Linked DNA regions of Homo sapiens: region 1 is linked to region 2. The links are contacts of gene promoters, found by promoter capture Hi-C in blood cells and fetal thymus (Javierre and others, 2016). All regions are on one chromosome and are shown on one strand. The core of a region is centred on a gene start or on the middle of the fragment in contact, and the rest is flanking DNA. Distances in the headings are between cores, read along the strand shown.

Region 1 (5,795 bases), core at 2,783-5,282, 490 kb before region 2:
AAAGCTTGATGCCAATATCTAATCTGCTTTCTTTCATATTTGTCCTCTCAATATTTATTTTTATTTTATTTTTTTTTTTTATTTTTTGTTTGTTTTGTTTTTTGGAGACAGGGTCTCACTCGGCCCTAGGCTGCAGCTGGAGTGCAGTGGCGTGATCTCGGCTCACTGCGACCTCTGCCTCCTGGGTTCAAGCAATTCTCCTGCCTCAGCCTCCCGAGTCGCTGAGATTACAGGTGCCTGCCACCATGATTAATTTTTGTATTTTTACTAGAGATAGGGTTTCACCATGTTGGCCAGGCTGCTCTCAAACTCCTGACCTCAAGTGATCTACCTGCGTCGGCCTCCCAAAGTGCTGGGATTACAGGCATGAGCCACCACGCCCCACCTGTCCTCTCAATATTTGTATTAACCTCTATATTTGTTGTCCCTGGAGGGGTGGATGTCTGGATATTAGTTTATTTGTTGGAACCACTGGGGTGTATTTCAGCACTGGTCTGGAAAGAATGGAGAGGCTTCACCGCTGCCAAAGCTCTCCTGGTTCGGCCTCACCTGGACGGTCGACTACATCGGTGCCGAGACAGGAACGGTGCAGCCCAAACAAGGACTCACTACAGTCAGACGCCCACGGGAACAGGGCTCATCAGCCAAAATCTAGTCGTTTTGTGAAAGGTGAGCCTGCGGCACGTTGAATGTAGAGAAGAGTTTTAGCAGAAGGTGTCAAGTCCCAGGCGTTGGAGTCTGGGGATCAGTCTGTGAACAAACCCAGGCTCAGAATCTGGTGAGAGGGGCAGAACAGGAGCAGGAGCCAGGACGGGAGCTGGGTGCCCAGCTGGGCCAGGGTGGGCAGAGTCCAGCCCCGCTGTCCCCTTCACCACCACTGGAGCATCGTTTCAGAAAGCCGTGCACGTCATCCACACAAACACACACAGACCACAGCTTTAAAAGCGGAGCCATACTGAACAAAAAGAGCACAGTCAGTGTGCACGGCAGTCCACACGCATGGTGCAGTGGGATTTACTTTAATGTATTAAACGTGGTAACAATACACACTGGATGGCAACTGTCGGAATAGATATAAAACATGTATGTTACAGGCACAAACCTTGTGATTTTAAGAACTAGAGAAAGATTTTTCAGCAATTGAGAAGTTTCCCTTTTTGTGACCTACTAACTAATGAAACAGGTTGACAAAGAGAGTATCGGACTATAAAAAAGGAGGAAAGACGGATCTTGTAGGAAATTCTGCAGTTTGGTCCCACGTAGGCTGACACACCAATGTTCTCCTGCCTTGATATTTAAGGGTCCCCCTGGGCCGGGGTCAGTGTGTGAGCCCTGCCCTGTACAATTCAATTCTGTTTGCAAACTAAACTGCTGGCCCGTTTGTGGTTGCCTTGGCACTCCTACTTAAGTCTTTTGCTGTTAATATTTTGAAATTTTGAATAAGTATGAAGGTAAAATAGTTGTCAACATTTGCCGGATATGATCTGTTTATATTATTTTATTTATTTTATTTGTTTTGAGACTGAGTCTCGCTCTGTTGCCCAGGCTGGAGTGCAGTGGCCTGATCTTGGCTCACTGCTCCCTCCGCCTTGTGGGTTCAAGTGATTCTCATGCCTCAGCCTCCTGAGTAGCTGGGATTACAGGCTCCCACCATCATGCTCCACTAACTTTTTTTTTTGCTGTATTTTTAGTAGAGACGGGGTTTCATCATGTTAGCCAGGTTGGTCTCAAACTCTTGACCTCAACTGATCTGGTGCCTCGGCCTCCCAAAGTGCTGGGATTACAGACATGAGCCATCGCGCCTGGCCACCAGGTATGATCTTAACTATTTTAAAGGTCATTATAAAAGAACTTTCCTTAAAAATCACTTTAAGCAAATGTTTCCTTATTAGAAGTGTTCCTTTGCATCCCATTTCCCTACTGAAGCATATGAAAAGGCATTTTCTCTTGTTTTGTTTCTGAATCTGATATTTCATTGAGAATATTTTTCTTGCAAGGGTGAGAAAAGTCACTACTCTGTTGTATAATTTGAAGCCAAGTATTACCATCCAATTTTTATCCTAACAGAGCAAAAAATTCAGCCATCTAAGTATTTATGATCATCCCCTTCTCAGTATTTTAATAGCTTGAAAGCAATTTTAAGCAAATTGGTGGTGGTATCTGGTAGCAAATATAACCTTCTCCAACGTAGGGCCCACACTCCCCATCATCCATTTCTGTCTGTACCAAACACACGCATGCTTATGGTAATGGTTGTGCAGAGGCGGCTGTCCTGTGTGGCTGCTCTGGAAATGTGGGTTATACCATCCTTGAAGAGAATCCCTGTGGGTGAATTATAAGAGGTTGAAGACACATATTGTCCAGAGTTTAAAGTCACAAAAAAATAAAGCATTTTCTTCGTGGTAAGACTTATCGGTAGGGCTAGAAAGGACGTAATTACATAGAATATAAATTATGTTTTCATTGCATGTATATAAATGGTGATGTTATATATCTAGGTAAAAATCCTGAAACATAGAAGTGAATTAAAGAAGTGTTTTAAATAACAGATAAATGTGCATTTTCCTCAATAATAACTCATTTATTCAGTTTTATACTTTTACATTGTTTTATGCTTTTATTTGATTCTCATCATAAGTCTATGAGGTGGACAAGGAGATATTGTTTGCTCATTTAGCTGATGACAAATTACATGCATATTTAATCAAGATAGAAAAATCTTGATTCTCCCTTGGCAAAGCTGAACTAAGGATAGATTAAATACATGCTGCACTGCCCCAAAGACCAGATAAAACCCTGCAGCTGTCATTACCCAGACAAGGGAGGCAAAGCCAGGATGATTCTGCCCTGGATTTTGTGAACTGTGTCAATCCATTCCCTTTGCTTTGGGAGTGGTATATTGCTCTGGGAATCACTGACAATATGGGAGGAGAAATAAAAACAAGCTTCTTGATTTCCAGTTCTGATCTCTGAGCGCTAGAGGACAGTATTGTTCTCTGCACAGCGCGCGGAGAACCCGTTCTAGGAGAAGTGATGGGACCCCCGCAGTCAGTATACCCCACACCTTCCCAGGCTGGGCCTGGGCCATACGGATCAGGGATGGGATGTGGCTTTGCATCTCCAGTTCCAGATGGCATCTCGTTCCCCAGCCCTGTGCATTCACAGAGCTTTGGCCTCTGTACTGAGTAGCGTGGGATGTATGAGGGGAAAGAGACAGTCTGTTCATTTACATGTTCTGCGTTGGGGTTTCATTACGTCTTTTAGCCCTTGAAACCTCTTCCTAAGTGATAAGCTATCAATGAGTGATTGTTATCATAGGCTCAGAGATTTTTCAGCCTGATTTATTTAAACTCTAGAGAAAGGAAAACAGGAGATGATGGCTTTGATCATGCTATTTGCTATTCTGAAAATTACAAAGGGAGGGGAGAGAGAGAAAAAAAATCTCTGCTCCCCTAATGAACTACTATATAAAAACTGCTATATAAGAAGATACGCGGTGCGATCCCCAGTGTAACGTACTTCACTGATGTTCAACATGCTTCCGTGGGCGTGTGTGGGTGGAAAGATGTTTCTTGTTACTGCCAAACAATCCAGTGTTTCTAGAGATAAAAACAGCCTGTAAAAGTTTTCTACTGTGGAGAATGACAGGCTTTGTGGCCTATGTGATATGTGCTCTCTATAGTCCAGATGAAGACAGTAACTACTGATCTGTGAAACCTCTGCAACACAACGGGGCTGCTCACGGCCACACGCCTGGCCTCACAGGTGACGCCTTCGCCCTCCTCTGGGTTCCCTGTTTCTCCCTCCTCCGAACTGAGCATCTGTCTTCTTCTGACAAGTACTTTCTGCTACCTTGTGCTTCAAGTCAATTTCTAGAGACACCAGATAGATTTCAATTCTGTAAAGATTTACTACGAATCACACAGTGCTGGACGACGTGCTAACACATATTCACATATGATGCTGGCTCCAGAGCTCAGTAAGCTGAGCACCTCCAACATCCCCCTCACAGCCATGGCCTGTCCTGCAGGTGCTGGTTTCTGCTGCAGACACAGGCTCTCCAGGCAGCCCTGTGCTCTTTGCAGCTATTCCTGGAAGCCTTGGGACGTCTCACCGATGCCCTCCATGTTCGGTTCTGCACACCTGCCCTTCTACGAGTCTCTTCTCTCAACGCCTCCTTACCCGGTTGCTGTCCATATTGCAGAAGAGGGCAGGGCCCAGGGAGCTGAATCCCGGCAAGTCCACGCTGCTGAGCTCCCAAGACCTTCAGTAAAGTAGGATTGTCTCTTTCACACCTAGCCCTGCATCCACCGCCATCGACCCAGGGTAAGGACCAGCACATGAAGGCCAAACTCCTTCCCTCGTTTCCCTTTACACCCATGTCTGCCTGTGAGAAGCCCTGGCTCATTCTCCTTCAGCCACAGGCCTCAGGAAGTCTCCTCCCTAGCGGTTGTCTCAGGCACTCTGGGTTCCAGCATGGCCTACGTGAAGCCTTCCTTAAAAGTGACAGCGCAGGACGTCCCCACTCAGGAAGCTCACACTCACGACTGTGCCTCTTCCTACACTCAGTAGAGTAAACTGTTTACAGTAGATGCTGACCAAGTGTTAGGTGAGAGTGGTGACGATGAGTGTGGAAATCTGCCTTAATTTTATGAGTTACCAACCTGTCATTGACTTCATGTTCATTCTGGCAAGAGCTAAGAGAGATACTATTGAGTATTTTAACACAGACTTCACTTGCTTGGGTGAACTGTAGACAGAATCCATCTTTAATGACCTATTTCTGTTACTGAACTGAACTGGTGTCTGCTCTCCTGTGGGGTGAGGCCAAACATCCACACCGTGGTTTGCAGCAGGGGAAAGCAAGGTGTTTATTTGCAGGATGCCAAGGAAAGAGAATTGGGCAGCTTACAATTGAGACCTGACCTCTCGGTGGCTTACAGGTAGGAGATTTTAAATCTGGAGAAGCAGAGATTGCAGGCAAAGAAGTCAATTAATATATTGAGGCTCTATATTGGTTTGGCCTAAAAAAGTAGGGTGTCATGAAGCAGGGTTCCACAGGTCACAGGTGGATTCAAAGATGTTGGGGTTTGCAATTGGGTAAGGAGGTGAAGCTTTATCTAAATACCCCATGACTTTACCAAACACCCCATGACTTCAACTCCCTTGGTTATTGTTTTAAGCTACTATTACCTTCTTGCTGGTCAAGTTGCTCATTTACTCTTCAGGGATAGCTGGGTGCCTGGAATTCCCCTTGAAGAAATTCAAGATTTTTCTTTCATGCTTGAGGGACTTGCAGGCCCCTAAGAGGGATCCCTGCTCTGTCTCATTTCTAATGGTTTGTTGTTAGGAAACCTCTCTAATGAGACCATGAAGTTCTTGAGGTGAAGGCACTGATCTTATATCTCTCCTTTTTTTATCTTATTGTTGTTACACACACTCTCCATAAACTCCATTTTGAGAAACCCAGGTTTCAGCTGCCACTGCTTGTGTTTCTTGCTCAATCCCTCTTGTGTCCATCTCCAACAATCCTCTCTCAGAGACATCCTTCAAATCTTTGCTAAAATGTCACCTTCACAAAGACCTTTTCTTACTGTCTTATTTAAAGTGGCAGGCCTCCTCTCCCCCATCGTGGCATCATTTTACCCCCTGGCTTTTATCACCACCTGACATGCCATATATTTTCACCTTGTTTATTGCCAGCACCCGCCTACCCCACTACAAAATAAGCTCCATGAGGGAGCTTTGTCTATTTAGTCCACTACTGTATCCTCAATGTCTGCAAAAGTGTCTAG
Region 2 (5,197 bases), core at 169-2,668:
AGGAAAACTGCCCATCTCATGTCCCTGCTTTCCACACTCTCTGCAAAGCCTTAGGAACTCATCAAGCCTGGGTGACAGATTAAGACTCTGTCTCCAAAAAAAAAAAAAAAAAACAAAAAGAAAGAACTCATCAGATATTATGTGGATATTGTATAGATATTGGCTACATCTAAATGATGCCAAAATGACCAGCAAAAAGGCAAAGAAAAAATCAGCTGTTTATATAAGCCAGCTCGTGAAGTAAGGTAAAAACAATTACTATAATTACACAACACCAAATGACTTGTCTGATTTTTTTTTTCTGAATGGACCTCTGTGTGTGTGCACGTGTATGTCTGCACCACGCAGACAGAGCCAGCAGCTGACTGAAGAAATGTGCTCTGCAGTGATACAGCCACAGCCCAAACAGGCAGTCAGCAGGACACACAATGTTCAGCTCCTCGATGGTCCAGCATAGATGGGGCACTGGGAAATGTGTGGAGCTAGAAAGTGCTTATCCCCTGGGACTTTTATGTAATCCACCACAGCGGACAAAGTAATGCCCATCCTACCTTTGTGATTTACATTTGCCCAGGCTGGTTCGCTTTGCTTACTGCTTACTGCTTACTGCTTTCTGCATCTCCTTTCTCTTTCCTCCATCAGTCTTAAAACTGCTTCCAAACAGACTGCCCTCTTAAAAGTCTGCTGCAGCTCTGTCCTCCTGGACCAATACGACCCTATCATATGGGGCATTAAGTCCAAGACCCTTATTCTTGAGTGTTTAAAGCATTTCTTATTTCTCTTCCCTCATTCTCCCCTCTCCCTTTGGGAATCACAACATCCCAACGCGTAACACCAGAAATACTTGAGTCCACACTGAGACTACCACAGGACCCCGGCCAGACTCTCCTGCACTTTGGGAGGCTGAGGTGGGAAGATTGTTTGAGCCCAGGAGTTCAAGACTAGCCTGGGCAACAAAGTGGAGACCCGGTCTCTAAGAAAAATAAATAAATAAAATAAAAATTTAAAAGGACATTAAGTAATTTGGCCAAAGCCGCAGAGGTCGTAAGTAAATATTAACGCACTCGAAACTGCTAAATAACTTATTGTATCGATGATGCTCGTTTTAATTGAAAGCATGGAGGCTGTGGTCTGGCTGCTTTCGCTTCCAACAAAGTGCACTGCTGCGCTCCAAGCAGAAGATAAACAGGGAGACAGGTGTGACTTCAAGAGAGCGACGGACGCTGTAACCCGAAGCCCCCGCGCCCGCCGCGGCCCGGGAGGCTGCCCCAGCCGGCCGGGCTGCGCACTCCCGCGGGGCTGGCGCGGCTCTCGCTTCCAAAGTTGGAGCTCTCCGGGGTGGGAGGGGGCGGGGAGGACGGCGGGGCGGTGACGTCACCCCCAGCGGGGATAAAGCGCCCCCGCCCGGGTCGGGGCCAGGACGCCGCCCGGCGCGGAGTGGCTGCCCTGCGCGGGGACACTTAGAGCCCGGTGGGCGGGAGGAAGGCGGCATGCCCCAGACGGTGATCCTCCCGGGCCCTGCGCCCTGGGGCTTCAGGCTCTCAGGGGGCATAGACTTCAACCAGCCTTTGGTCATCACCAGGGTAGGTGTCGGCATTCTTGCTTTTGCTGCGAGGTGGGGACTCCGGCGGCGTCCGGGGGGACGCAGTGGATGCCCCGGGGCCGAGGGCGGCCAGAAAGCGCGCGAGGGCGGGCGGACGGGGCGCTGCTGGCTCCCGGGCTTCGGCGCCCAGCTCCGGGGGCGGCGGCAACTCCGTCAAGTGGCTGCGGAGCGGCTCAGAGATTTGACAAAGTCCGCTCTAAAGGTGTCCCATCCTCTGGGTCCGCAGCGACTTTCCGAGGAGAGCCACTGGGCTCAGGGAAGGCGAGGCTGCCAGGCTCGAGTGCCTCCTCCCCTTTAGGTTTTAAATGTTTTATATGTGATAACAGAAATAAAACACACCCCATCGCCCTTCCGTAACAAATGATGGGTCCCGGGTGGGAGAGGCGAGGGACTGGCACCCCCCGGCATTCCCTGGAGCTGGCGCGCATCTGAGCGTTTTTCTCGTCCGGATGAAAAGTTCAGCAGCGCGCTGTTCGCGGGGCACGACCTGCGTTGGCCAAACTGGAGCCGCTCCTATCAGCCCAGACAGGGGAAGTCTTCCTAATGCTCACTCCTCAGTTTCCAGGCATTTTGAGCACGTTTTCCAAAGCTGAGAACTTGGCTTAGGAATTACCAACTTCTAACTCTAGCTACAAAGAAAACGTGGCAGACAGTTTAGTTTACCTGATGCAAAGTAAACCACTCAGCCTAAAACGGAAAATAATGCTTTAATGTCAAAGTCAAGCTTTACTTGGTGTTCTCTACTGTCTAATGAGAAAACAAGGTAAAAATAAAACCTCAGGGTTTCTCTCCTGTCAGTAAATTTGTAGAATTAATTCTAAAGCATTATTTGGTCTAGCTGGTTTTTTTCTAACACAATGTTTTTCTTCATAGAAAATTAATGTATTATTTCAGTTATCACATATAAAACATTTAATACCTAAAGGCGTAAACTTCCAGAATATTATACTTTTAGTTGCAGAGTATTATACTTTATTTTCTTGTATTCTTCTCATGCCATATTTTATAATTGTATGTGTTATAATCTGATTGATCTGCTCATACAGATTTTGAACAAGGTAATACCTTTTAAATTCTGTTTTATTTATATATGCCTATGAGATTTGGGAACCAACATCCTTTTAAAAATATGTCAAAATGTGTATCCTACAGACGCATACAATGGAACGTTTCAAGCCTTGTTTTACATTTTTCAAAAACATATAAACACATCTGACGTGTTTTTATATGAAACATGAAAACTGTTCAACATACCCCCAAAAACGTTCCTAAGTAAAGTAAGCAGAAAATGCTTCAGTGACCTGGGCCAAGCAATTCCTATTATAGATTTACCAACAAAAACAGTTTCCGTTATATCTACTAAGAAATGTTTTAGTTTCTGGAGTATGGTTTTTATTTAAATTGAATAAGCTTTTGAATCCTAACACAGAATAAATCATATTTATATTAAATTCTAACCAAAATAATTTTGTCACGAAAACTTTTAAGGTGTTTATAAAAGAAATATTTTGCTATTATAGTATAATCGTATGTCAATATAATTAATCATATGCTTGAAATTTTGAGTTGTTGACATTATAAATGTTTATTTTAAAGCAGTACTTACATTCCAGAGTTGGACTACAATAGCTATTGGTAAATATATTTGATATAATGGCAGTTATTATTAGGGAAACCAATTCTATCTGGAATTCCTAACTCATAACTAATTTGTATCACTCATTTTTGACATTTGGTTCAATAACAGTTTATGACCAAATATGATTTCACTTGATTATGGCTTTTCTCTTTAATTAATTCTAGGACAGCAGGTAAAACCAAATCATTTTTGTATCCCAAGTGTCCCCAAAGCCAGGTATATAGTAGATTCTTATTGAATAAATAAGAACATTTATTTATTCAATAAGAACTTTTATGCTTTAGTGAACACCTAATTCAGAATATTTTCACTGAAATGATAAGAATATTGAAATTTGTTAAGGAAAAGAATAAAAAGTATTACAGAAAAGTATTACAGAAAAATAACTATCAGTATTGTTAAATGGTGAATTGTTGTACTGCTTTTAACATTTTAACACCATTTTGAAAGGCAGTGTGTGAGGTTGTAAGTGTGTTATTGTACTCTCTTGCTTGCCAGGCATTGATGGGAACCTTTTATGTGCACGAACTCACTGAAATCTCACAATAATCTTTAGGAGAGTAGCAGTAGTGACATCCCCTTTTGCAAATGAGGAGAATGAGGCTTCAAAAGATTTATTAACCCGCCGATGATCACAAGCAGTGGGACAGGCTCTGACGCTAGGTCTGTGTGCCTCCAAAGCCTGCATTCTGAAGGCCACATGTGAAAATGGACACCTGTTCCAATATTTCTAAAGAGTTGTTTTGTGCCATCCTGTTCATCACTGGCCTTATTGATGCTGTCTTCAACATCTGCCACTTTCCATTTTTTCTACTACTGTCCCTCTTCAAGATTTCCTAGCTCCACGCCTAGACATTTGGCTCCCCCGTCCAATTCACACAGCATATTCTTACCGTCTCTGGAAAATGCCAAATTGCTCCTTTCTCATTCTTAAAAATCCTTCAGCGGCATCACTTGTTTGTAGAGAGTGAAATGCGTGTCTTTGCACAACATTCATGACTTTTCACCATCTCCTATCCCAATTTGAGTTGCTAACTTCATTTCTTTCCTCTCCCTTTGTTGTCTCTCCCTTTCCTCCCCTTGTTCCACACGTAGGCAGTGGTACCGCCCTCTGGACTACTTACGATTTCCCTGACGTGTCTTTGCTCCTGATACCATTTTTCCCCACACCACACCACTGTCCTCTGTGCCTGTGGAAACCACTCAAATGCCTCTCCCCAAGCCTTCTTTCAGTAACAACCATCTCATCCGGTTGATTACTGTAGCTTTCGGCCTGTATAACCCCTCCTTATGTCATGCCTGTACCAGATGTTCCACTGCATCTGTATCCCACCAGATTGCACATTCCCCGAAGGCAGAAACCTTCTAATCTGGGGGCCATTCAGGGCCTAGCACAGTGCCTAGTAGAGCATATGTGTTGTAGAATAAATATAGACACGGTATGAATGATTGACTAGATTGTTCCCTTTTTACATGACTTTATTATAAATAGGTATAGAATGTGTTCTCAAAAATATTTCACAAAAAGATAAGTGAGAATTGTTTTATTGTGAGTTGATTTGTCATGTTTTTGTTTTGTTTTGTTGAGACAGAGTCTCGCTCTGTCTCCCAGGCTGGAGTGCAGTGGCGCGATCTCGCCTCACTGCAACCTCTGCCTCCTGGGTTCAAGCGATTCTCCTGCCTCAGCCTTCCAAGTAGCTGGGACTACAAGCACCCGCCACCATACCCAGCTAATTTTTTTTTTTTTTTTTTTTTTAGTAGAGATAGGGTTTCACCATGTTGGCCAGGCTACTCTCAAACTCCTGACCTCAGGCGATCCGCCCACCTCAGCTTCCCAAAGTGATTACAGTCGTGAGCCACCACGCCTGGCTGATGTGTCAGTTTTAAATAAGTTCTTAATATACAAAGAATTGAAATACCAATATCTACACTTAAAGCCACAAAAAGTCCCATAA

The links. The method cuts DNA at HindIII sites, captures the fragments that hold promoters and counts their contacts. A CHiCAGO score of 5 or more calls a contact.
Region 1: a fragment that was not itself captured here is called in contact with the fragment with the promoter of PDLIM3 in region 2 in 1 of 17 cell types (megakaryocytes); the score reaches 5.0 in megakaryocytes.

What each region holds. Positions count from the first base shown.
Region 1 is chr4:186,018,946-186,024,740 of GRCh38, reverse strand. It overlaps LOC124900830 (a long non-coding RNA gene), which reads left to right and starts at 1,776. Exons shown (of 3, transcript XR_007058420.1): 1 at 1,776-1,813. The HindIII fragment of the contact is 2,169 bases long and covers 2,948-5,116 here.
Region 2 is chr4:185,531,728-185,536,924 of GRCh38, reverse strand. It overlaps PDLIM3 (PDZ and LIM domain 3), which reads left to right and starts at 1,418. Exons shown (of 8, transcript NM_014476.6): 1 at 1,418-1,583. The coding sequence starts at 1,491. The HindIII fragment of the contact is 10,243 bases long and covers 1-2,329 here.